Linked DNA regions of Homo sapiens: regions 2, 3, 4, 5, 6 and 7 are each linked to region 1. Evidence: promoter capture Hi-C in 16 types of primary human blood cells and fetal thymus (Javierre and others, 2016). All regions are on one chromosome and are shown on one strand. The core of a region is centred on a gene start or on the middle of the fragment in contact, and the rest is flanking DNA. Distances in the headings are between cores, read along the strand shown.

What was found. Contacts are between HindIII fragments. The CHiCAGO score rates a contact against its expected background, and 5 or more counts as called.
Region 2: a fragment that was not itself captured here is called in contact with the fragment with the promoter of MARCHF7 in region 1 in 2 of 17 cell types (megakaryocytes and erythroblasts); the score reaches 6.2 in megakaryocytes.
Region 3: a fragment that was not itself captured here is called in contact with the fragment with the promoter of MARCHF7 in region 1 in 1 of 17 cell types (fetal thymus); the score reaches 9.0 in fetal thymus.
Region 4: a fragment that was not itself captured here is called in contact with the fragment with the promoter of MARCHF7 in region 1 in 1 of 17 cell types (megakaryocytes); the score reaches 5.5 in megakaryocytes.
Region 5: a fragment that was not itself captured here is called in contact with the fragment with the promoter of MARCHF7 in region 1 in 2 of 17 cell types (megakaryocytes and naive CD8 T cells); the score reaches 11.0 in megakaryocytes.
Region 6: a contact is called between a fragment that was not itself captured here and the fragment with the promoter of MARCHF7 in region 1, in 1 of 17 cell types (megakaryocytes). The highest score is 7.6, in megakaryocytes.
Region 7: a contact is called between a fragment that was not itself captured here and the fragment with the promoter of MARCHF7 in region 1, in 3 of 17 cell types (megakaryocytes, fetal thymus and erythroblasts). The highest score is 9.7, in megakaryocytes.

Annotation. Positions count from the first base shown.
Region 1 is chr2:159,710,567-159,714,261 of GRCh38, reverse strand. It overlaps MARCHF7 (membrane associated ring-CH-type finger 7), which reads right to left and starts at 1,756. Exons shown (of 12, transcript NM_001282805.2): 1 at 1,656-1,756. It also overlaps a transcript of BAZ2B not described here. RefSeq lists silencers at 1,158-1,277, 1,798-2,307 and enhancers at 1,468-1,747, 1,515-2,181. The HindIII fragment of the contact is 3,093 bases long and covers 1,471-3,695 here.
Region 2 is chr2:159,177,708-159,181,134 of GRCh38, reverse strand. TANC1 (tetratricopeptide repeat, ankyrin repeat and coiled-coil containing 1) reads right to left here. Exons shown (of 27, transcript NM_033394.3): 14 at 1,972-2,579. Among named protein-coding and RNA genes, the nearest start is that of MIR6888, 7.4 kb to the left of the region's middle. The HindIII fragment of the contact is 1,871 bases long and covers 681-2,551 here.
Region 3 is chr2:159,091,077-159,094,543 of GRCh38, reverse strand. All of the region lies in intron 3 of TANC1 (tetratricopeptide repeat, ankyrin repeat and coiled-coil containing 1), which reads right to left. Among named protein-coding and RNA genes, the nearest start is that of MIR6888, 94 kb to the left of the region's middle. RefSeq lists an enhancer at 3,425-3,467. The HindIII fragment of the contact is 1,210 bases long and covers 1,185-2,394 here.
Region 4 is chr2:158,891,991-158,895,536 of GRCh38, reverse strand. No RefSeq gene overlaps it. Among named protein-coding and RNA genes, the nearest start is that of TANC1, 75 kb to the left of the region's middle. RefSeq lists an enhancer at 1,927-2,096. The HindIII fragment of the contact is 244 bases long and covers 1,580-1,823 here.
Region 5 is chr2:159,135,017-159,138,503 of GRCh38, reverse strand. TANC1 (tetratricopeptide repeat, ankyrin repeat and coiled-coil containing 1) reads right to left here. Exons shown (of 27, transcript NM_033394.3): 5 at 2,206-2,310. Among named protein-coding and RNA genes, the nearest start is that of MIR6888, 50 kb to the left of the region's middle. The HindIII fragment of the contact is 3,835 bases long and covers 1-3,261 here.
Region 6 is chr2:159,114,611-159,118,113 of GRCh38, reverse strand. The region is part of intron 4 of TANC1 (tetratricopeptide repeat, ankyrin repeat and coiled-coil containing 1); the gene reads right to left. Among named protein-coding and RNA genes, the nearest start is that of MIR6888, 70 kb to the left of the region's middle. The HindIII fragment of the contact is 1,511 bases long and covers 906-2,416 here.
Region 7 is chr2:159,158,682-159,162,090 of GRCh38, reverse strand. All of the region lies in intron 7 of TANC1 (tetratricopeptide repeat, ankyrin repeat and coiled-coil containing 1), which reads right to left. Among named protein-coding and RNA genes, the nearest start is that of MIR6888, 26 kb to the left of the region's middle. The HindIII fragment of the contact is 2,772 bases long and covers 591-3,362 here.

The DNA.
Region 1 (3,695 bases), core at 507-3,006:
TCTAAAAAAGTTTTAAGATATTTGACAGATTTTGCATTATAAAATTATTTTCCTACAATAAAATGTCAAAATGTAGACGATTCTTGAACATAGAGCAGATAAAAGAGTTGTGTAAGGTGGGTATGGAGCGGACTAAAAATTGGCTACATGAGAGTCATGGATGACTTTTGTGTCCAAGTTCGTTACCTGACACCTTCATGTAGAACATAACCTGGGCATCCTCGTGCTTTATCTGGGAAAATAGCCCTCTTCCAGGTGGCAGAAAAAAGAAATCATTTGTACTTGAATAAGTAGGAATTCTTAATTCAAGACACCTGACCCAGCACTAAACTTGGAAAAAAACCAAGACTAGTATTATGTCCCCTAGTGACTGCTTCACACACCACCTCAGCAAATTTAATCCTCTCTAGAAATTAACTGCCATGTTTCTGAGACAATCTCGTGAACTTAAATAACTATGGCAAAAATCAAGACTCAAACCCAGGTCTTCTGAGTCTGGTGCTACTGCCTCATGCACCAGTCCTGTCTCCCAAAATGCTGTAGAGCTGTTAAATAAAAATATTATACTGACCTCATTTCTCAAACAAACTTTTTGCTACCTCAAGTAAAAGATCTAGTTACACTACATGTGTGCCTTCTTAATAACTGTATACTATTGGATTTTTAAATCGAAAATTCATCTTTAATCCTACATCTTGGTTCTGGACAGAAAGGTGGAGATTTAAAATAACATGTAATCAGAAAAATAGCTAATCAATCCTACAAAATGGGGGAGAAAACCTCGCCAAATTTCAGTTTTCACACATTTAACTAATAGTAACAAACAACATTAGTCGTGACGAATTTATTACCCAGATAGACTTTCCCAATATATTTACTTTGGTACTTGAGAAAAAGTATTAAGTGCAGCATTTTGGGGTGAGGGGGTGGACACACATCTTCAATACGCAGTTTCACCAAAATGAGGGAGTTTCCTACTCCCGGCGCCTTCTATATTTTTACTTCTTAGGCCAACAGGTCCATTTTTAATACAATCACCTACTTCGAGTTGCAGAACCCACAATTCACCACAACACAAAAATAACTCTCAGGGCGTCACGATATTCAAAAACTGACGTTACCAATAAGACAATCTTGGCCGAATCTAAGGGGCTACCGAAGTCACTTCGACTCGAGGCCGGGCTGGCCGAGCCGGAGCCCTGCCCGCCTTTGCCCCGCGCTCACCGGCGAGCTCACGCGCGACACCCGCGGCCCGCAGGGCTCCGAAGACCCCCCGCCCCACGGCCCAAGAGGAGGCCGCCCCGCGCCAAAGGAGGGCTCAGGCTTCTTCCCGTCACCCGCCACACGTCCCTGAGGAAGACACACAATCTGTCCCCTGCACCCGCCACAAACTCCACCACCCGACCAAAGGCCCCTGGCAAGGGAGGCCTGCGCTGTGGCCCCTTGGCCCCGGTGGCCCCGGACCAAGCTTCTCCACCTCATCCTGAGAGGAAGCGGCCTCCGCGTCCCCAGGCCTCTTCGTTTCCTCCCCTCCCCCACTCGCGGCCTGGTCCCGAACTAGCGCCCAAGACGGAGAAGAACTAGCTCCGCAGCTCATTACCCCGGCTCCTGAGCCGGCACCGACCAGTGCGCGTCCCACTCGCAGCAACACGCACCGCCGCCTTTCTCCTTGGAGTTCTAGGCCCGTGACTGAGGAAATGCAGTCGGCAGCGAAGCACAATGGCGCCCGCCCCTCTCCCGGATCCGGCGCAGAACCAGCCACCACCGTTAAGTGCCCCTCCCTGCTCCTCCTCCCCCCACTTCGCGGACTTCCTGGCTTCTCGCGAGAGTGGCGGCGCGGCGGGGACCGAGAGCTGCGGGCGGGCTGGAGGTACCCCACCGCGGGGTGGTGCTCTGACTGCGGGAACCGTTGAAGAGCTGCCCCCGGGGAGTCAGCGAGGCGCCACTGGTAAGCGGCAGCGGCTGGCTGGCCGGCGTGCCGGCAGCTGGGCTGGCGAGTGTGCGGGCGCCGGGCGCTGGAGGCCCGGGCCGGGGCGGTCCCCGCCCGTCTATAGTCTCTGAGCCAGCCCCTTCCCTCCCGGGCGCCGGGTCCCCGCCCACAGGCCCACCTGCAGGGCCCCGTGCTCGAAATAACGCCCAGCTGGTTGGCTTTTTTTTTTTTTTTTTTTCTTTTTCTGGCTCTTGGTAAGTGGCGCAGTGAATGTTGAATTGAATCAAGCACTGCCTTTTCCGACCTACCCCTCCCCGCTTGCTTCCCTGCCCGCCCTGTGTGATCTAACTGCAAGCCCTTTCCCTTAAGAGTTGGAGCCTGTTTGTCCAACCTTGTGATCATTTCCTTGTGGTAAGAATCTTGGTAAATGATGGTGATCATGTCTTTTAAAATCGTGATAGTAACCTTTAATAGCGTAGCCATCGATTTTGCAGTAAACAAATTCACCTATTTAGAAAGAGGGAGGAAAATTGTGAGGTGAATGGTCTGGTGAATATTAGATGAAACTTTCAAAGAACTGTAAATGTGGCAAACTAAGATGTAAATGAGTACTAATAAATAAAAGGGAGTAGGTTAGGGAAAAGCTACATCTAACTATGTGTAAATATTTAGATGATATGTTGATTTGGAATAATGAATCAAAAGTTTTTTAATGGAAAAGATCAGTTATTGAAACTTGGAAGAATACTGAAAGGCACTTGATTTTTTTTAATGACCTATTTTGTTAAGGTATTAAAAGCAATCCTTTGGATCCAAATAATTCCAATAAATGAAACACAGTGTTTCTACGTGTTTGTCATTACATCGGAAGGGAATGGAGTATCAGTCACTATCATCCTTATTTTATTGTCTTGGGGACTAACAGACTGTACATGTTTCACTATGATAAATTCTAAAATACTATAAATTTTAAAGACTTAAAGGTATTTTAAGTTGGCATGTAAGTGCCAATCTAACTTTTAGGATATGAAATGAAAATAAGCATCTGGTATGGGATAAAGTGAACAGAGATTACTTTTGAGGAAATTAATTTGCCCTTTAAAGAAAAATAATTCTTTTCCAGCCTGTTCGAGTGCCCCTGCAGCATTGTGGTTATAGATACACGGATGTATACACCCTGAAGAACCAGACTATATGGCTTCAAATTCCACCCCTGCCTCTTACTACCTTTGTTATCTCAAGCAATTCCTTAACCTTGCTAAACCTAGGTTTCCTGTAAAACGGGGTTAATAACAGTACCCATGCTCTGTAGCATTGTTTAGATGAGATAACACGTCAGTTCCTGAAACAAGTAAGCATTCCGTAATTGTTAGCTATTACATTCCATGTCTAAACCACCAATAATATTGTTTCTTTCTGTGACTTAATATTACATAGGTCTCTTAGACATCTTCTCAAGATTATGCTAAGAGAAATGACTGCACCCTTTTCCTGAGCTATGGCAGTCAGACCTGGCAGTGGTAACTACTCTACAGAACTCCCAAACCTGGCAAGGATGGTGCAGATTTTGGCAGATTATGGCTTTGTCCCCACCCAGCACTGATGATATTATAAAGTGAGTATGACACCAATTTCCTATGCTAAACAGAGCTTCTAGTTTTTTATTGGTGCTAGTAAATAAAGACCACTGATGAATATGTTTTTATTATTTAAGAATGGTTCGTTGTGTTTCTTTTTAATGTACTCTCTCTGATTTTAGTATTCA
Region 2 (3,427 bases), core at 367-2,866, 530 kb after region 1:
AAGATTGGTATATCATTTAAAATGCTACAGAAAGAGGCAGAAATAAAAAATGAACTGTCTTTGTCTGAGGGTTGAAATTTTCTGCTTTTATAATTAGGGCAAAAATACGACAACTGGGAGTTGGGGAAGAAATGCTACCATTTTTCGAGGCCCAACCCACCATCACCATGTTTTAAAATCACCTCCCCAGGCCCCTTTACTTACGCTGGGAGCTTCTCCCTCTTGTGAGGTCCACATGAAGTGTGCCTCCCTCTCGCATATCACCTCCTGCCTCCCCTGCCCTGTGTGGGAAGCCCTGAGAGCAGGGTCCTTGTCCCAACAATTGGTGTCTGCCACAGTACTTTGCACATAACTGCATATAACAAAAACTGTTGCTGAACTGAATCCAGTAGCTTCCTTCCAACATTGTTCTATATCCTCTCAATTGAATGAAGCTCAAATACTACAGGTGTCTTGGGAAAATGGCAACAACTCGCACCACCCAGGAGTGGGTGCTTCCTTAAATTCTGCACCCTTGGTACCTCTCTTGCCTCCACCTAGTCCAGGTCCTGCCCCAGGGGATGTCCCCATGCCTGCTTTTAAGAACACAGTGGCATTCAGGAGCCCACAGGCACCCACCCTAGCTCTGACCTAGGCTACATAACCTCAATGCCCACCAATACCCAAAATGAAGCGAAGCTTAATGAAGACTACAGTCCAGCCACTTTAGCCTCCAACCCAGTAACAACCTACACTCCTGATGGAGTCTTTCAATTTGTTTTTATGTCTCTACAAACTCAGCTATAGTCAATCTTCCTAGAAAATGACTGGAATTTCCCTAGAAAGTAATCTGACTTGGCTAGAAATGTCACAGCACATGTTTCACCTAGCTATTATGGTCTGGCTAAATAACCTGGATGTTAGTTTATTGCCCCAAACCAGGTTCAAAAGATAACAACAAACCTTCAGCCAGTGTTACTGAAGAAAATAATAACAGCCCCAACATGAACAGCAGCCAGGCCTATCAGGTGGATGTTCAGTCAATATTCACAGGGAGGAAAGTGGCTGTGAGGCTCCCAGGGCTCACCAATGCTTGTTCACCTCTTCATTTCTGGATCCCAGCATCTGGTCAAATGCCTAAGGGGTCAGCTGAGCAGCTTGCCAGCCCTGTTACTACAGCAGGGGGCAATTCTGGCTCACAGATAGCCGAAGCCACTCGAGACAGCAGAGACACAGGCCAAAGCCAGGGCCAAGTGGAAGTTGGGGGCTTGCCATATACATATCTGAACGCATCTGCATCCTCAAACTTTCTGACCTCTCACACTGTTACCAAGCCACACAGCAGACAGGCTTCCTTCCCCATCCCACTGTGATAACAGCGGCCCAGGCAGCAAGGAGAACTGCATCCCAGCCTGGTCCAGTCCACCACACAGAGCTCATCCACAAAGGGTGAAGGGTGTGGAGCGGGGAGGCTAGATTGGATCATGGTGCTCCCTCTGGGCTCACAGATATACCTGATCCCTGGGACAAGTCACTCCATGTTCAAGGGGTGGCAGGGGAGTGGAGGTGCTGAGGACCCATGACAGTCTGCAGACACACAGGGAACTCCCTCTAGAGAAGCCCCCTGTTCCCAGGGGCTGATCTCACACATTCCCATGCATGATCCTGCAGAAGCTGGGTGGGGGAGGAGACGGGGCTCCATGAGACAATGGACAGTAAGGAAGGACCACACAGGCACCACCCAGCTTCTCTTTTATCCACATGTACCATCCATAAGGGAGTCCTAGCAATTAGAAGGCAGCTTCTGTATAGAGAATTCCCCATTGCCCATCCTTCTGCCAAAAAGGAAGAAAAATAATAAAACAAAGCAGTAACACTGAATTAGTCATTCTGGATTGCCCTTCCATTGAGACACGTGCATCACATTTAAATCCTTTCCCCAACTGCACACGAGATTCCCTGCAAAGAGCTGAAAGAAAGCGCCTGCCGTACCTGGGCTCACACAGGAAGGCCGTGTTTTCCCCGTCTGCTCTCCATACAAGCCACTCCCTGAAGGACGGGTGGCAGAACATGCGGGTTTTGTCTCGCCTCTTAATGAGGAAGCAGGAGAGGGCGTCCATCCTCTGCTGAAAGTCTTCCCATCCCTGCTCCCCCTGGATGTGGCCAGCATTAATAGCCTGAAAGATCTGCTCGTCTGTCATGGGGTGGAGGGATGCGAGGGCCACGTTGAGAATCGGAAGTGCCCTCTCAAAGGCGGACTGGGTCATGAACTTCATGTTGCACTGAAGCAAATAGAGCTCAGAGAGAGACACGGGCACCACCTTGTAGCTGGCACTCTTAATGACCAAGTGGCCCCTCTGGAAAAGGTCCAGGGTGAGCTTGAGGTACAGGTAGGAGCCGAGGCTCCGCAGCACCAGGTGGCTGCTCACTTTTCCAATGAGTGTGGCATCGGCCTTGCCATTCAGGGAGATGTTGCTGAGGATGTCCTGGCTGCTGTGCACCCTGTGCTGGACGTAGGCGTGCAGGTCACTGTGGATGTCTTTGTTGTCTGGGAAGTCATCTAAGGAAAGCTTGACAAATGGCAGCGCACTTATGATTTCCTGGGGGAGAAAACAAAAACCCACAGTGTCACTCTAAAGAGATTCCTTTTTTATTTTAACAGCATTTTAAACCAGATTCACTAGTTTTGTTTCAAGGAGGATTTTCATGGATTACAGGGACTCATTGTTTTGTATTAAAACGTGTAATAGGATAAGGTGAAGATAAAAAGCTTATGTGAAAGAAATCCTGATGGGAGATGGAATCAGTAAGTGCTATCCTGAGGCCCTCATCCAAGGACCCTGAGCCTAGCAAGCAGAGTAAGAGCCCTGTGCAGACAGCGGCAACGAGGCCAGGGCCAGTAAGGGCAGTGAGACTCTGCAGGTGACCTGATACCCATAATCCTTACACTGTGAAACTGCTTATATAACAAGGACAAACACCAACCAACACTGCACATCTAAGAACACGGCCAGACGCCAAGATAAAAGACATCCTTCTTTATGCAGCAAACACTGGGGCTGTGTAACCCAATCAGGAAATCTGAGTCTGCCCCTGGGCTGTGTCTCAACGACAGCGCATCTTAACAAAGCTGCCTACTTTGGTATAGCACGTTATTTTATGAATTGCTTTTTTAAAGTAAACTTTTAAATTGAAGTCTAACAATGAACATATGATTTGTGTACAAATGACAATTGCACAGTGTCACTAATTTTCACTAAGTCAAATATACCTATGTAACCAGCACCCAGAAACAAAACATCCTCAGCTCCCAGAAGCCTCATGTGCCCTTCCCATCTCTTCCCCATTCCAAAGATTAAGCACATCTGACACCTAAAAGCAAAGAAGAGTTTTGCCTTTTTAAAAAGACTTCCCACTATTGTTTCTGAAGTATTTAAATGCACGTGCT
Region 3 (3,467 bases), core at 540-3,039, 620 kb after region 1:
CCAGCGCGCAGTGGAGCCGGATGCCCTCTGACCCGACAAACTTGTAAAAGCTGAGGGATGGTTGTTTTCTCATCACCACCTCACTCTCACACTGAGAATGCAAGCAGGTGCTGTGCCTACAAGAACCACATCACGTCACCTAATTCATGGGTGTACAGGCAAGAATCACCAAGAGACAGATCAGAACTTGGAAAGCACTGAGGCCACAGCCCCAGAACATTACATACAAAAGACGTGTGGGGGACCTTGAAGAGGTGACACTGGTTTTCCATGTGGTTTGAAGAGAGCTACATTGCCCTGTGGCTGTTCTCACATAGGCTAAATCACAGACCCAGCTAGTCAAATGGCTGTGGGATGGCCTGACAGGCCACAAAGGCACTGTCTCCCCTACTCACACATGAGTATTACTGACCTATACAAAAACAAATAAAAACCCAGATTTCAAGTCCTTTAATTTGCATGAGGACACAAAAGAAGGGAGAAATACATGTACCACCACCAGAAATAAACAGCATTGAGAAAAGGTTTATTTTCTTAAATACTTATAATTCTCCAACATGACACAAGAGAAATTAGGCATTGAAGGGAAAAAGAATTAAAAAGTTTCCTAATTATAAATTCTGCCCATAAACTTTGTTTATAACAAGCAAAGCAAATATTTTCATTAATTGCAAATGTGGTGCAGATGAGTTTCCAAAGCATGCTGTAAGCATGAGGACCTTCAGCCTTTGGAGCAGCTGGGCTCCAGCACTATGATTTTATGCAGGCTGCAATAAAACGAGGCTTAAGAGAAGAGGGAGGGGGAGGGGGGTTTCCATTTCAAGTTTACTTTACCATCTCACTATAATCACTCTCAAACATGTTGTTCTGTTTGGTTTGTTTTTCAGAGGCAATAAAAGATCTCTAACTTCCAGTATCCTTTCATTAGAAAGGCACAAAGTAGGGAGAGAAGTTTTATGTATGAACAGGAAGCACAAAGCTGGGTGGATCTAGCACTCTGGAGCCAGGAGCTTTAACTGCACAAGGGCAAGGGGAATACGGTCAAACAAAGAAAGCATCACGATGATGCCACGGGCAGAAAGTGAAAATCTCTTAGGGGCATCCACGTGAACAATACAATATTGGTTCTGGGCAACAAGACACCAGAGATTCTCCAGTAGATGTAACATTCCTCAGCAGAAGCTTAAAGACATTTAAGAGGAATTAAAGATGTTTCACTGCAACAACCAGCACAGCTGGCATATTTCTTAACCCTTGAATAGATACTGTTTTCTTTTAACTATGACCTATTTTATTCCCCACCTTGATTAAGTGATGGGAAGCACATTTCAATCACCCTTCCTGTTACTGCAGGCAGAAATGCCAGGTAGGACGATGCAACCTCTCCAGGGTATGAAAACTATGTTATCAATGACTAGTAATTTACCTCCTCCAGCTTCACTGGCAGGTGTTTCCATTGGAACATTTACACACCACAGACAGTCCCACCTACCCCAAAATGCTTTCCATCGCACAGCATCAAATGCAATCACACTGTCTCAGATGGGAGACTGGGGCCTGGAAGGTAACCCTGAGGAACAGGGATCACAGCTAGAACCTCCCCACAACCGGTCAGCTCAGGCTCTAACATTCTCACCACTTCACACGTTTAAGAGCTTTAATTTGGGGAAAAAGATAGAGATCCCCAAAACGACACATTTTTAGTGAGTATTTTAAATACATAAGGCGTCAGCACACTTTGCTACAAAGGGTATGACAGTAAATATTTCAGACTTTGCAGGTTACATATAGCCTCTGTCACTCATACACACACACTCCTTTGCTTCTTTTAAAATCATCAATTCCCTTAAGTCCAAAAATAAAAGTCCAGAAAGGGCAAGGGGACACACAGACATCTATAAGAACCTCTCTGTTCGTAATAAATAAAAATATATACGCATACAAGTAAGTCAAAGTCATAGTTTGCAAAGATAACAAAATTATCAAAGGGAATAAAGCCATCCAATAAGGCGTTTTAAATTGGCAGAAATGGCTTTTGATAACAGTTCTTTATTTTAAAATGTTTTTACCATTACAGGCTGTGAAAAGGGATTTCAATTCATAATGGAAGAAAATGTCAATCTGGGAGATGAATGTTTAAAGGCAGCTATGCAGAATGGCAACATCCAACATCACAGATTAAAGTACATAGAGTGCAGCATTAGAGACAGCTTTAAAAAATGAGGGCAACGAAGGCAAGGAGATGAAAGTAAAAGCATATTTCAGGAAGGGAAGGCCTGAGAAAGGCAAGGGTGCACTTAGACACTCAGGTAAATAGGTCTGCAGAGGCAGGAAATAAGATTTCCATTTATTGTGCCACTGAAGTGGCTGAGGTGGGGTGGGGCGATAGAAGCTTAGAATAGAAAAAGAAAGATGTTCTGTTTATCCAGCTCCAGAAAACGGAACTTGTGCAATGCATTTAACTAGGGCATTAAATGTGTTAGGGCACCTTTTGTGCAGTCCCCGCCTTACAGTGCACTAATGTTTCTTAAAGGTTGTATAACCACATAACTCTACATACATACACACACACACCCCCCCCTATATTTACAGAAAACTGAAAGATTTCTTCCACAAGATCCAGTATCATTTTTGGACCCTTCAGAAGACTACAACTAAAAGCACTTGAAGCCATTTTATGTCTTATAGAATCTCCTAACATTCAGGCAGAACATTTTGAAAATAAATGCATCCAAGAAAACAATTTTCAAAAACTTTATTCAGACAATCATGATTAATTCTCAAACAATACCACTAAGAGGCAAGAAAGCAGCTAACCCCTAGGGTACAAGAAACCTAGCCAACAGGACAGCATATCCTTGTCTTCAAAAATCCACCCAGTGGGATCTAAACAGAGATCAGTAAATACTGTCCGCATGGTTTTATTCTTAATACTCAATGGTTATAGAACCAAACGTACAAATGTGCCTTATCCTGAAACAGATGAGTAAACAGACTGGCATTTCCTCTCTAATTGTCAAAGTTTTCCTTTTAAGACATATCAGCATGCAAGAGTTTCTGTGCTTTAAAAATAAATGACCTCAGAAAAACTCCCACCCCCAAACTCCCAGAGGGGTGCAATTTAAAATAAATGCTCTTTTTATTTTTTAGATGTATTAGGTGCCAGGACAGGGTTCTGGGTGCATTATACATATATTATTTAAACTTAATCTTCACAGCCACGCCACAAATTAGGCATTGCTATTAGCCCCCTTTTCAGATGAAGAAACTGAGGCACAGAAAGGATCAAGTATCTTGCCCAAGGCCACTCTGGCATATATCAGAGCTGAGTCTGAACCCAGGCAGCGGGATCCAGAGTCCACTGTCTCAGTATTGCTCCCCTTGGAGAAGGCTACTGAGAAAGGCTTTCAACATTATGTCATTTTGCATACTTAAGAAGGAAAACCAAAAATAGTATATGTAGGTCT
Region 4 (3,546 bases), core at 452-2,951, 820 kb after region 1:
CGTGCATGCCCGTAATCCCCACTACTCAGGAGGCTGAGGCAGGAGAATCATTTGATCCTGGGAGGCGGAGGTTGCAGTGAGCCAAGATCGCGACATTGTACTCCAGCCTGGGCAACAAGAGCAAAATTTGGTCTCCAAAAAAAAAAAAAAAAGAAAAAAAAGAAAGAAAAAAGAAAAAAAAGAAAAGCCTAAAAGGGTAAATTTTATGTGAGATATATTTTTTTACCACAATATTAAAAATATTGATTTGTAACATGGAAACATTGATGTCTACCACAATTTGCATAATGCTATTTTGGCATAGGTTTCTTTCTTCTTTTCTTTTCTTTTTTTTTTTTTTGAGATGGAGTCTTGCTCTGTTGCCCATGCTGGAGTGCAGTGGCACGATCTCAGCTCACTGCAACCTCCACCTCCCGGGTTCAAGCAATTCTCCTGCCTCAGCCTCCCAAGTAGCTGGGACTATAGGGGCATGCCGCCACACTGGGCTAATATTTTGTATTTCGTATTCGTCTCGAACTCTTGACCTCAAGTGATCCACCCGCCTTGGCCTCTGAAAGTGCTGGGATTACAGGCGTGAGCCACCTTGCCCGGCCTGGCATAGTTTCCTTTTGAAAAAAAGTTAGCACTGGAGCTAACCTCCTAAGTACCTTTGTGCAGGTGAGAAAAAGCAACTTTTCCTCAGATACTTTGCTGCCATCTGCAAAAAAACGTATCCTAATGCACGTGCAAATCTACAATGACTTCAGTATGAAGGGAGCCCCCTAGAGTTGTGCAGTATACTACCTGCACAGGTTGTTCAAAGAGTCCCCAACAAAACACAAGTGCCCAGGCCTCTCTATCTCTGCAAATAGTCTGGGGTGACTGGTGGTGGGAAAAAAATAAATATAAAATATGAAAAAATAAAAATATAAAAATATAAAAAATAAAAAATAAATTTTTTTTTAATATGGAAAGTTTGGATTATACTGGTTGTAGCTGTTGAAAATGCTGTTCCATCAACATTAATAAGCCAAAAACAAAGTCTCCCAAGGTGCCCAGCTGACAATTCAGGAGGTGGCTTTGAACAAGAAGTGGTGGGAATGATGTGTCAGGAAAGAAAGAAGCCACTGCCAGGGTCGGCCTTATTCATGGATAAACAGATTTATATTATGCGAACACTGAAGAGGCCCTGTGCACATTTCTATTCTCTAGTTTTGGGGATGCCTAAAATTCCAACGACTTTCTTCATGACTTATAGCTTGTCAGAACTACAAAGAGCCTTTGACGTCACCTGGTTCTAATCTCCAATTTCTCAGATGAGACACTGCAGTCTAGAAATGTTAAATGACTCAGCCACAGGCACACACTAGTTGGTATTTTGCTTTGCTCTCTACCTGAGAATCTGGCAGGGAAGAGGGTCCTCCAAGAGAGGAGAGAATATCAAAATGGGCAGGGACGTGGTTCTAGAGACAGGGGTGCTCCACTTCACAGTCATTATAATTTCCCTTTTCCCATAATCCCTAAGCCATAGGAGGGGTGAATGGGGAGGGAAAGGCAGAGGCTCGATAACATTGATAACCCTGAGAAGCATACTAAAGCTTAAGAAGAATCTATAAGTAGTGTGTATTTGACTTTTCATTCATTTATTCACTAAATACATTGAGCATCAACTTAAGACAAGCATTATGTACTTGAGGGTCTTGTGAACTAGTTGGGGAGAGAGACATGTAAACAGATAAATTATAGTAAGACCTGTAATATGCTGATTTAGATGTATGAACCTAGTGCTGAGGGGACCCTGAGGTGGGAACAACTCTTTTTCCACAGAGGCCTTGGGGAAAGCTTTCCAGAGGAAGCAATATTGGAGTGGGTTTTGAAGGGTGAATAGGAGTTTAGCAGGTGGGAAGGGTGTGAGGGAAGGTTCTAAGAATTCCGGGTGGAAATAATAGCCTGTGCCCTGGGGTAGGGTCTAGAGAGTGTGATCCCTTTAGGAATGGCAGGAGCACCCTGTGTTTTAGTAGCACATGGGAGTTGACCTGGGCCAAGGTACCGAGTTGGCATTTTATCCTGTAGCCAAGCAAGTCAACAAAGGCTGTGAAGCAGAGTGTGACAGGATTCCTTGTGGAAGGAGAGAAGGACTCTGGCTTCCAAGGAGGATGAACAGCAGTGAGAGAGAGCAGAGTTGGGGAGACGGGGCAGGGGCTGTGAACACTCAGGCTGTGCTCCATCAGTGAACGAACTTGCCAGGACAAGCCGGGCAGCGGGGTGGAGAATGGCTCAGCCCCAACCCCCTGCAGCCATCTGTTCCTCCACACGCACACTGTGCCTCCTCCCACTCCTGAGCCGGCAGAACTTCTGCCACTGACATTTGAAACAGTGGGGGAGTTGAAAGAGGGAGGCCTGTGGCGAATGCCCCCCACCCCATCCCTCCTTGGGCTTGCTTGGTCTGAATGTGGGATATGATGTATGTGGTTACACGTGTGGCACCTACCTCTAGCAGTCAGGAGGTGAACCAGGAATGTCACTTTATTCCTTCCAATGGAAACGAACTGCCTCTGATACTGAGCATAGCAGGAGAAACTGAGCATCTGGGTGTAAAGCAGAGAAGACTGCTAGTGGGAGAGAAAAGGGCTTTAGTCTGGTAGTGGCTGGTACCAGGAGAACTACATTAGAGCAAGCCTAAGGTTGTCACCAACTTCTGTAGGAACAGGCAGAGGGTTTGTGGCCAGGTAGTCGGCTCAACTCCAGAGGCTGAGCTGACATATTGGACCCTCAGCCTTTGGGCTAATGTAGCCTTAGTCTGAACCAGCTGAGGACATTTTCTAGCTGAGGGTTTGAGGAGAGTTCCTTGTTTGGTAGCCCCCAGCTCAGCACAATGCCGGGTTCAGTAAATGATTCCTAAATGGAATCAAACTCAAGTGAGGAACCTACTGAGAGTCTTCACTTGTAACTGTACACACCTGTATATAGCCCCATGGCTTGTAGCAACATGTTTTTTAAAAGCTGCACATTGGCCACACACAGTGGCTCAAGCCTGTGATCCCAGCACTTTGGGAGCCTGAGGTGGGTGGATTGCTTAAGCCTAGGAGTTGGAGACCAGCCTGGGCAACATGGTGAAACCCCATCTCTACAAAAAATACAAAAATTAGCCAAGCATGGTAGTGTGTGCCTGTAGTCCCAGCTACTCAGAAGGCTGAGGTGGGAGGGTCACTTGAGCCCAGGAAGTCGAGGCTGCAGTGAGCTGTGATGGTGCCACTGCACTGCAGCCTGGGTGACAGAGCGAGACTCTGTCTCAACAACAACAACAACAACAACAACAAATCTGCACGCTATTATCTGGACAGGTGAATATTGAGAGAAGGAGGCGCAAAAAGCATGTGGGGGGGGCAGGAACCATGAACAGAGGCAGGGAGCAGAGAGAGAATGGTGCTGAGCAGGGGCTTGGAGGCCCCTTGTGTAAATGCAGAAGAGATGTTTAACCTTTAGTTGCCTGACAGAGAAAATGGAATGTTCCAGGGAGCAGTGGTGGTGACAGTGGTAGAGGACACTTGAGGGGCTTGCACACCT
Region 5 (3,487 bases), core at 95-2,594, 580 kb after region 1:
AAATTTACACTTTGACATGGCAGACTTAATTAACCCCATTGAAATTTAAGGGACTCCATGGGGATTACAAAACATACCATTCTATACTAATTGTCCTGTTCGACTTTGTTAGGCAGCCACCTCTCCTCATCAACCAAGAGAAAGCTCACCCTGCTGCGGCATCCACCAACATCATGGCTATCTTCAGGCAAGACCATGCACCCACAGACGTGAACTACACCTGCTCCCGAGACACTTAACAAAAATGAAAACATACCCTGCTTCTTAATTTCAGGCGAAACCGAAATGTCTGGTCCTGTATTTGTAGCCCATAGATCTCATAACTTTGGTCCCCATGAAGACTAAAGATGCCGAATCAGAAAGCTCAGGTCTCAGGAGTGAGCACACATGCAAACTTCAGGCCACTCCAGCAAGACCAATTGCTGCATTTGAAATTTAGCTCAGCCCACAGCCAAGCATAAGAACACTTCCATTCGTCAAGAAAGGTGGCCAATTCTGCTTTGAGCAAGGGAGAAAAGTTAACAATAGGAACTATTTATAACCTTTTATTGCCTAATAAAAATCCAAATTTTCTACCCCCACTCCCACACCAGGAGGAGGAGGTCCCAATCCCTGTACAGAACCTTAACGATACTCCCAGCCAGGGAGGAAGAGGTTACATAATGGAGCCTAGGCCAGCCAAAATGCCAGGGGCATAATTGACCAGGGCTACAAAGGCTTTGGTGGGTGGGGAAGAAGGGAAGAGGTAGGTAGCAGGCTTAATCTGAGCCAGGCAGACAGCTTAGACATTTGATGACTGATATTCACTACAGAGAGAGAGATTTTACTTTCCTTTCAGGACACCGAGGAGAGAGAGAACAGACTGCCTGCCCACGTGAACGCACAATCAAGAGAGGCCTCATGTACCAGCAGTTGGCTATCCTAACCAGACACCACAGTGGAATCTCCACCTTCACCAGCAACATTCGGTGTGCACAAATCCTCAGCTCAAATCCTCTTCCCTCAACCACACAATGAGTGCCTGGACAGAAAGGAAAAGGGTGGCATTTCTCATGCCAAGACACCTGCAATAGCACCTCTTGCCTGCCCAGAGTGCCCAGTGCCTGGCCCCATCTTTTCCCCATGTCCCAAACTCCCCTTCCCTTCCCAGTTTTCAGCTTTTGCTGATCCTTCCTCACAGCTCATTTTTAGCTATATTTTTACCACCACTCCAGTATATTGTCTTCCCATGTCCTACTTATTACCCACTCCCTGCCATACAGCACCAGCAACACAAAAGGCACACACAGGTTAGGACATAAAGGGTCTGTATCTCCCACCACCCACAATTAGGCAGAGGAAGGTGCCAGATATGCCAAAGTAAAAATATGGTTGAGTTCTCTTTCAGCATTGCTACATAAACTTTTGTCCACACTGAGGATAAAGCAAGCCCCTTTACATACAGCAAGATTCCTAGTCCCATGTTTCTGCAGAAAAACAGGGTGGAAATTCAAAACACCCAAATTAAAGGCAAGAGAGATGTGAGTTGGGGACTCCCCAGAAAGGAACAAACAGGAAAATTCTTGAATTGATTTTTTAAAATAAACAACTATGAATATATCTGTTAAATGCTGCAAATTTGTAATGTCACACATATTTCCAGGTATAAAATACATATACATATAAAATGTCTTTAAAAATATTTCCATCAATTTGGTTTTTTTTTTTTTTTTTTTGCTCCTACTTCAACATCCCCTAAAGAAAAACTTCAGATGTTAAAAAAAGCAGCCTTCAAAAGACACCAAATGCTTTTTTTAAAGCTAGCAATTACATGCTTTGTCCAGTTAAGGTTTCAGCTTTTCAGCCAAAGCCTGTTGTTGAATTTTCTCAAGCAGTAGAATATTAAAAACAAAACAAAATCTTGGAAGCAATCTACTGGGTGACGCTTCCTATCCTCCAAGACCTGGTAGGTCAAAATTCAGAGGAAATAGGACTCAATCCTTAAATAATGCATATGTACCCACTTAACTATTTATACGCCAGGTATACAATTTCCAAGAATTTGCGTTAGCCAAACAGATCTCTGTAACTGCTGGAGGGGAAAATACCTCCCAAATACATTCTCAGCAAAGCAGTACTGCAAGGACACTCAAGTTTCATTCAGAAATGAAGTGTCATTGTATAAAATCTTTGGTAGAGGGGGAAGGAAATCACTGAAATTCTTACCATGCTCATCAGGCTCTGTTGGCTTGGCTACTTCTCTGAATGGCATTATAACTGCATCTCCAGGCACTCTGGGGCTTTCCACATACTTGGGCTTCCTGACGGGACCTGTAGTGGGAAAGATCTGAGTGTGGCTAATTTTTTCCAGATGCAAACAAAGCCTTGGAATGTACAGTGTGTGTCCTTACCAGGACCCAAATATGCCTAGAGGAAGAGCCAGTGCCTTCCCCTCCCTTAAACGCGCGCGCGCGCACACACACACACACACACACACACACACACACACACACACACACACAAAATTTCAGTACAGACGAGGGAACGTCCAGTCTGGCCTGCCAAAGAAGAAAAGAGTAAGCTCAGATTTGAGAATGTAAACCCTAACAAAAACAAAAGCTGCTCTCTTGCTGTGAAGTCGCTACAGCTGTCTTCACTGGTCAAGTGGGTGATTTTGACATGTTCAAACCTGGACTGCTTTGTGATGAAGGGTTTGATTTTCCTCTAACTAGGACAAGGATGGGACAAAGACAATTTGGTAGCTTGGTATCTCTAAAGTCAGGAGGCAAGGATTACAAACAGCCGGCCTGTAACAGCAACACAGTCTGCGCACCAGCCACAAGAACACAGGCATCTTATCTGGCTGGTGACGCACAGTAACTGTGCGGGGCACAGCAGCCAGCAAGCGGGTCAGACATAGGAGAGACCAACAGGCTTATCTCCTACCTCCTGTTCCCACAGCCCCTGCTTATTATCAGAAAATCCGGAATTCTTCGTAAGACTGGATGGAACCCTCACATACAATGATGCAGCCGTTTTGGAAAACAGTTTGGCAGTCGTTCAAAAGGTTAAGTGCAGAGTTACTACATGGCCCTGCAGTTCTACTCCTATGGGAATGTATGTTCACACAAAAACTTGTACACGAATGCTCACAGTAACGCCATTTGTACTAGCTAAAGGTACGTCAAATGACAACAACAAAATGTTCTTTGCCCACACAATGGATTATTGGGCAGTAGAAAGGAATGAAGTATCGATTCATGCTACAACATGGATGAAGCTTGAAAACATTCTGCTAAGTGAAAGAAGCCAGTCACAAAGGATCTACATGATTCCATTCATATGTCATGCCCAGAATAGCCAAATCTTTCAGAAAGTATAAATGGTTGCCAGGGGCTGGGGGTTATGCAGGCTATGCAGGCCTGTGGGGTAATGGTAAGGGATATGTGACTTCTTTCTAGAGTGACCAAATGTTCTAAAATTAGGTTGTAGGGATGGTTGTACAACT
Region 6 (3,503 bases), core at 412-2,911, 600 kb after region 1:
GTGTACATCAAAAGATGGGAGCAGAAGGCACTTCACTTCTGTGGTTTCTGCCCCAAAACCTGTAACTCCAGTCTAATCATGAGAAAAACACCAGTAGAGAAAAACACCAGTAGAGAAAAACTCCAGTACAGAAAAATTCCAGTAGAGAAAAACTCCAGTAGAGAAAAACTCCAGTACAGAAAAACTCCAGTACAGAAAAACTCCAGTAGAGGGGCAACCTGCAAAACACCAGCCCAGCACTCCCCAAAACTGCCAAGGTCATCAAAACAAGGAAAGTCTGAGCAACCACCACAGCCAAGAAGAGTCTAAGACCTGACAACTAAATGCAATATGGTGTCCTCTCGGATACTGGAATAGAAAAAGGACATTGGGAATAAGCTTTAAAAAAAAAAAAAAAAAAAAAAAAAAAAAAGGAATAGGCCGGGCACGGTGGCTCACGCCTGTAATCCCAGCACTTTGGGAGGCCGAGGCAGGCGGGTCACGAGGTCAGGAGATTGAGACCATCCTGGCCAACACGGTGAAACCCCGTCTCTATTAAAAAATACAAAAAATTAGCCGGGCGTGGTGGCGGGCACCTGTAGTCACAGCTACTCGGGAGGCTGAGGCAGGAGAATGGCGTGAACCCAGGAGGCGGAGCTTGCAGTGAGCCGAGATTGCACCACTGCACTCCAGCCTGGGCAACAGAGCAAGACCCCATCTCAAAAAAAAAAGGAATAAAGTACAGACTTTAGTAGGTATCAATATCAGTTCATTAACTCTGACAAGTGTGTCATACTAATGTCCTATGTTAATAAGAGGAGACTTGGTATGGAGTGCACGGGAACTCTGCATTCTTTGCAACTTCTCTATAAATCTAACGCTATTCTGAATTTAAATTTTATTAAAAATAGAAGTTCACCCAAGCTTTAATGGTAACTAAGAGGTCTCGTCACATACAGGAGAGTCCTTTTACTTTCTATGTTGTATTTAGGTTGTGTTCCTGACAGTCCTTTCACCCTCAGCATAGAGGAGGGTAAAGCAGCAAACACTGCTTCACTGAAGGTCATGTGAAGGATATGGTGGAAAGGCAGAGTGTGAGGGCTCCTGTGCCATCTGCACCTTTCGAGAGTGATCGAAGGCCACTATTCCGGGTGGCAATGAAGTAAAGTGAAAATGACCCAGGCTTTGGAATTAGACTGAAGTTCAAATCCCAACTGGTTATCAACGAGCAGTCTAACCTTCAGCAAAGTTATAACTAAGCTCTTGGGGCGCTCCATCAACTCACTGTAAGTGGGGTTCATACCTAAGCTGCAGGCTTGAAAATGTTCATGCAGTGTCTAGCACATGGTTGAATAAATGCTAAGTTTCCATTTCTCCTTTCCTTTCCTGAGACAAAAGTTAACATTGGCCAACTACAGCCCAGGGGCCAAATTGGACCACTGAGTGTTTTTATACATAAAATATCACTGGAACACAGCCATGACCACTCATTTACGTATTGTCTAAGGCTGCTCTGTACTACGATGGCAGAGTTACATAGTCGCAACAGGGACTGTGTGGCCCTCAAAGCCTGAGATATTTACTATCTGGCCCTTGACAGAAAAAGTTTGCCTATTCTGCTCAAAGGTCATCAATTGCCATATTTCCAAAAGCTAACAGGTCCTTTGTTTTTTTTTTTTTGTTGTTGTTGTTGTTGTTGTTGTTTTTTGAGACTGAGTCTTGCTCTGTCACCCAGGCTGTAATACAGTGGTACAATCTCGGCTAACTGCAACATCTGCCTCCTGGGTTCAAGCGATTCTCCTGCTTCAGCCTCCTGAGTAGCTGGGATTACAGGCATCTGCCACCACACCCAGCTAATTTTTTTGTATTTTTAGTAGAGACGGGGTTTCACCATGTTGGTCAGGCTGTTCTCAAACTCCTGACCTGATGATCTGTCTGCCTCGGCCTCCCAAAGTGCTGGGATTACAAGTGTGAGCCACCGCGCCCAGCCACTAACAGGTACTTTTCATTCCTTATCATACTTGACCTTCACAGCCTCTGCGTCAGATGCCCTGTTTCAAAATCCTCTTTTCTCTCTTGAGGCCAGCAACCTTAGCTCAGACTCTGCACTCAACTCCTTGGTGCTCTTCACAAGCATGGCTTCGTGGAGCACTCAAAGTTCAAGATAGGCAAAGTCAAACCACTCCACACTGTAGTTAATTACACCAGCACCTACACCTGTGGTAGGGCAGAAACAGCATTACTTGGAATCCCAGGACCAACGAGGGCTGAAATTCTACCTTTCAGAACCTTAGAATTCCTACCCAAAACACAGGAATAATGCCCACCTTGGAAATACTATGAAAATTAAACTGGGGAGAAAAACAAAGTCATGAGGCACAACAGAATATTTTGAATCTTGACCTATCAAGAAAACCAAGCTAGAGCTCGGCAAGCTTCCCAATGGCATGCAAAAAATGAGTTAAGGGTATGCCAGGATATGGATTCTCTCAGCTCTCCGGACCGTTGGGCAGAGTCTGGGGCAGTGCCCGAGGGACAGTTCATTGATTCCATTTGCTGTACAAAAATCTCCTATATGTGCCATGAGATTAAAAGGACTAGGAAGCCCCTGCCTTGAGTACTTTCCTTCTGCACTTTCTTCCTTCCCTAATTCTCATGTACAAACAGGTCACCACAACCTAAAGATTCTTTTTCCTAAAACTTTTTCAAATCAACCTCCACCACACTGCACATTCCCCTGCAGAGTTAAGCCACTATACTGCATTTGACTCAAGGAGTCCCAGTCTCAACCCCAAGGAGGCCTGTGTGAAACAGTTACCGTCCTAGAAACCAAATCTATTTATTTCATCCCTCTTCTGCTTAACTCTGTCATAGGACATCACTGCCAAAATAAAACACCTGGCTCCTCCAATGACACACACACACACGGACACACATACACACACACACACACACACACACACCCTTACCAGCTTCCGAAAGGAGAGTCTCGCTCTTCTCCGTGAGGTCACAACACTTTGTAGACACCTCAATGTCTTCACTGTTGTCATCTCTTGCCAAACTGGGAGGTCCCCAGAGCTTAGAGCCAAGTATTTATTTACCTTTATATCCACCACATCTCTAGTCCAGAGCCCAACACATGGCTGGTGCTCAATAAACTGGTATAAAACAAATGTTTATGGAAGCTCATGAAATCACTGCGTGAAAGACTGAATAACTCAGAGTGCCTCTGAGGCCATTTGCAAAAATAAAGATCACCACCAAAAGTCATCATATCCACCCATACAATGTCCTCTTACAATGAAAGGGATCCTGGAACAGGCTCTCACCAAAACAAGTCCAGGAGAACTGGGGGAGTAAGAGCTCTTGAGATGACCACAGAATAAAATGAACTTTATTTTAAAGCCCAAAGGGCACACAAACTAATAATTTCCAGGTTGAAAGGAAGAAACAGGAAAAGTATACCATAAAAATAATAAAAGAGTGTCAAAATGCAAATAAAAATGGGATTCTCTTAAGCAGTC
Region 7 (3,409 bases), core at 727-3,226, 550 kb after region 1:
CAGGACATCCTGTCACAATTCTGACTGTCTTTACTCCTCCTGCTGCTGCAGCCTGGACTTATCACCCTCTCTGGTTGCCTATTTTAAAAAATCCCACATAAATGCTGAAGCCTTCCCTAGAGTATCCATGGCTATCTTTTCCTTTTCTGAATAGCACAGCACAGCACATAGTAAGTGCTCAATAAATGCTTGCTAATTGAATGAATGAGCAAATGAATAAACTTCAATTCCATTTGTGGTCAGAGACACTACACTTAATCTCACTTACCAGAGTTCAGGATCTGATTTTGGGTGCCCATCGTTATGATTCCCAGCATTTGCCAGTGTTCCATCAGCAGTATTAAACCATACCTCCACCTCTTTGGAATCAATCACAGCCTTCCTTGTGTTTTTAAATAGACCATTTATATGAACATAGGCATAGCAAGTATGACTCTTTCTATCATAAAAATGCCAATGGTGGTGTTGACAGCAGAAGCTAGCATTTACTGAAGGTTTGCTATATGCTAGAAGTGTGCTAATGTTTTTCAGGAGTGGTCTAATTTATTGATAAGATTATTGCTTATTAATGGTAATCCTGTTAATAAGCTTGAAGCATAAAAATGGGGGCCATCCCATAACACAGATTGTGGTGTTACAAACCTTCACATTTAAATCCAGCATTTGCAACTCAAAATGCTTTTCTCAGACATATTGTAATAAGTTAGGTTCACAGGCTACTCCAACATCCAAGTGACAGGAAGAGTTCCAGGCTAGGGAGATAGGGGATTTGTTTGGTTTTATTTTTGTGGCTGTTACATTGGAAAGCACGTATTTGTAAATTGAAAAATTAAACCAAAAGTCAAAGTGCTCTCCCTAAGTGCCAAGCACTTCTGAATCAAACCCCAAAGATCTGAGTCCTAACTAGGACCTCAAGCAGGGGAAATAAGGACTTAGCTCACTTCCTGTTACAAGTGACAGCACTGCAATCAGGACCTCAGGGACCCATGGAGCAGCTGAGGATGGCTGGGAAGGCCAGGTCAGAGCTCCTGATGGCAGGACAGGTGGAAGGTGTGGCTCTCACTGGCAGACATGTGCCCTACACTGTGCCCAGCATCTCGTGGAGGGGGAGAGGGGGCGGAGGGGTAACACTCAGGTCCTGGCAGGGAGAGGAAGGAAAAGGGGTGGGGGAGGAAGGGCTCAGCTGCAGGAGCAGTCACTGCGAAGAGAAGTCCCAGATGGGGTAACCATTTAGAAATGAACATATTGTAAGGTCAGTGTTTATATGAAGGAGACTAGTGAGGAAGAAGAGGCAGCCCTTCTGCTGCCCTCACAAAGTTCCTGTGAGAGAGGCATTCCACGGTCCACATGTCCCAGGGTTCTCAGAGGCAGGGAGGCTGGAAAATCTGAAGCCACTCCATTGACACTCCTTCCTGGGATTCAATATCAGATGTAGCCTACACAGGTGGAAGCCCAGACACTCTCATCTTGGCTCAGCTCCATCCGAGCCCTGAGGCAGATCCAGCTGAGCAGATGAAGGCCAAATCAGTCTGGCTTCCCTGCATAACCTAAGAACAACACCAAACATGGCAGCCCCGGAGTCCCCAAGAAGAGAAAGCTGGTTCTTCCAATAAACGACATCTTTCTTTCTTCCAACCTTACAGAAATTCAAACTCCTAATCAGGTTAACCCAGTCAATCACTCTCAAAAATGCTTGTGGGTACACGTACACATCAAGGGCAGCATCTTAACTGTGATGACTTAAAAAAAAAAAATCTCTAAAAAGTGCTATTTGACATTTCCCAGAGACTGGCTAATGTTTATAGTTGCCTTAATAATTTAAAAATTCTAGCATTTTGTTCTTTGGACTAGTATAGATGGCAGCTTTTGTCAATTACAGCTTGCTATCATCACCCAAACTGGGTCTCAGCCACCCTCGAGACACAGGGCATTCTGAAACTGAGCGACTTATCAGGCCTTAAATTTTATAAGGCTGTGAGGTTAGGCTGTGCCTCACAATTTAGTGTTACATTCCGTTTAGTCTCAAGGACAGTGTCTTATCTTCCTTTGTACTAGTGTACAGGGGTAGAATACTTCCAAAACACTTTTCTTTTTTTTGAATAATATGGGATTTCACTATGCTGCCCAGGCTGGTCTCAAACTCCTGGCCTCAATCAGTCCTCCTGCATCAGCCTCCCAAGTAGCTGGGACTATAGGCACACATCATTGCACCTGGCTCACTTTCTTAATATAACAGGGCGTATACCTGATCACATCCCATGAGAGGAGGCAGATAGGCTGAGAACCATCAACCCCACCTTATAGAGATAAAAGGCTCCAGAGAACCTGATCTCTCTCTCTCTCTCTCTCTCTCTCTCTCTCTCTCTCTCTCTCACACACACACACACACACACACACACGTATGTGTATGCACAATTAGTGGTATAGCTAATACCAATTCTTCTGATTATACATACAGCGTATTTTTAAAACACCATTTGCTTGCATGGTGCTCATTACATAAAAGGAGTTAATTATCTGTGGCTAAAAGTTCATGAAGTCTGCCTTGTTAAAAAGTCATCCACTCAGTCATCAAATGCTTTGCTCTGCAAGGCTCTGAAATACGACTGCACTCTTTCTTCACCTTCCCAAAGTTTTTTTTTTTTTTTTTTGAGACAGGGTCTCACTCTCTTGCCCAGGCTGGAGTGCAGTGGTGCTATCTCGGCTCACTGCAGCCTCGAACTTCCAAGGCTCAAGCGATCCTCCCACCTCAGCCCCCTAAGTAGCTGGGACTACAGGTACCACACCTTGCTAATTTTTTATATTTTTGTAGAGACAGGGTGCCGCCATGTTGCCCACACTGGTCTTGAACTCCTGAGCTCAAGCAATCCACCCACCTTGGCCTCCTAAAGTGCTAGGATCCAACTTTACCCCTTGCCTTCTGAAGGTTCTATGTTGAATGGACACTTAAAATAGAATCAGCAAAAGAAAAATAAAATCAGTGTCGGTCCAGGGCCCTATAGGTAGTTTGGTGGGATCCAAATCAAGTTATAGGCTTAAATGAACATCAAGAAGAAAGCTAACTGTAACCTGACTACAGCATTAGCCCAGAATTGTTCAGGAACTAAGGACCAGAGATACCAAACATATGCCACAAACAATTCATCAGAACCTTCTCTTTGAGCTACAGAGAAGACAAGGGTGAAAAGAGCAAGGGGCTTGCTGCAACCTTGGCTTCTCCCCTCTAGGGGGTCCACAAGGAGGTATGCGTCTCCAGACCCGGTACCATTTTGGGCAATGGACATTTTTGTCTTTATAAACACCACCTTCCACATGTGTTTTCTCTCTTTCCACTAGCTATCAGGAAACTTAGGAGTAAAGCTTTCTGCCCACTTATAAGAAGAATACAGTCTTATGAATGTGACTCCTC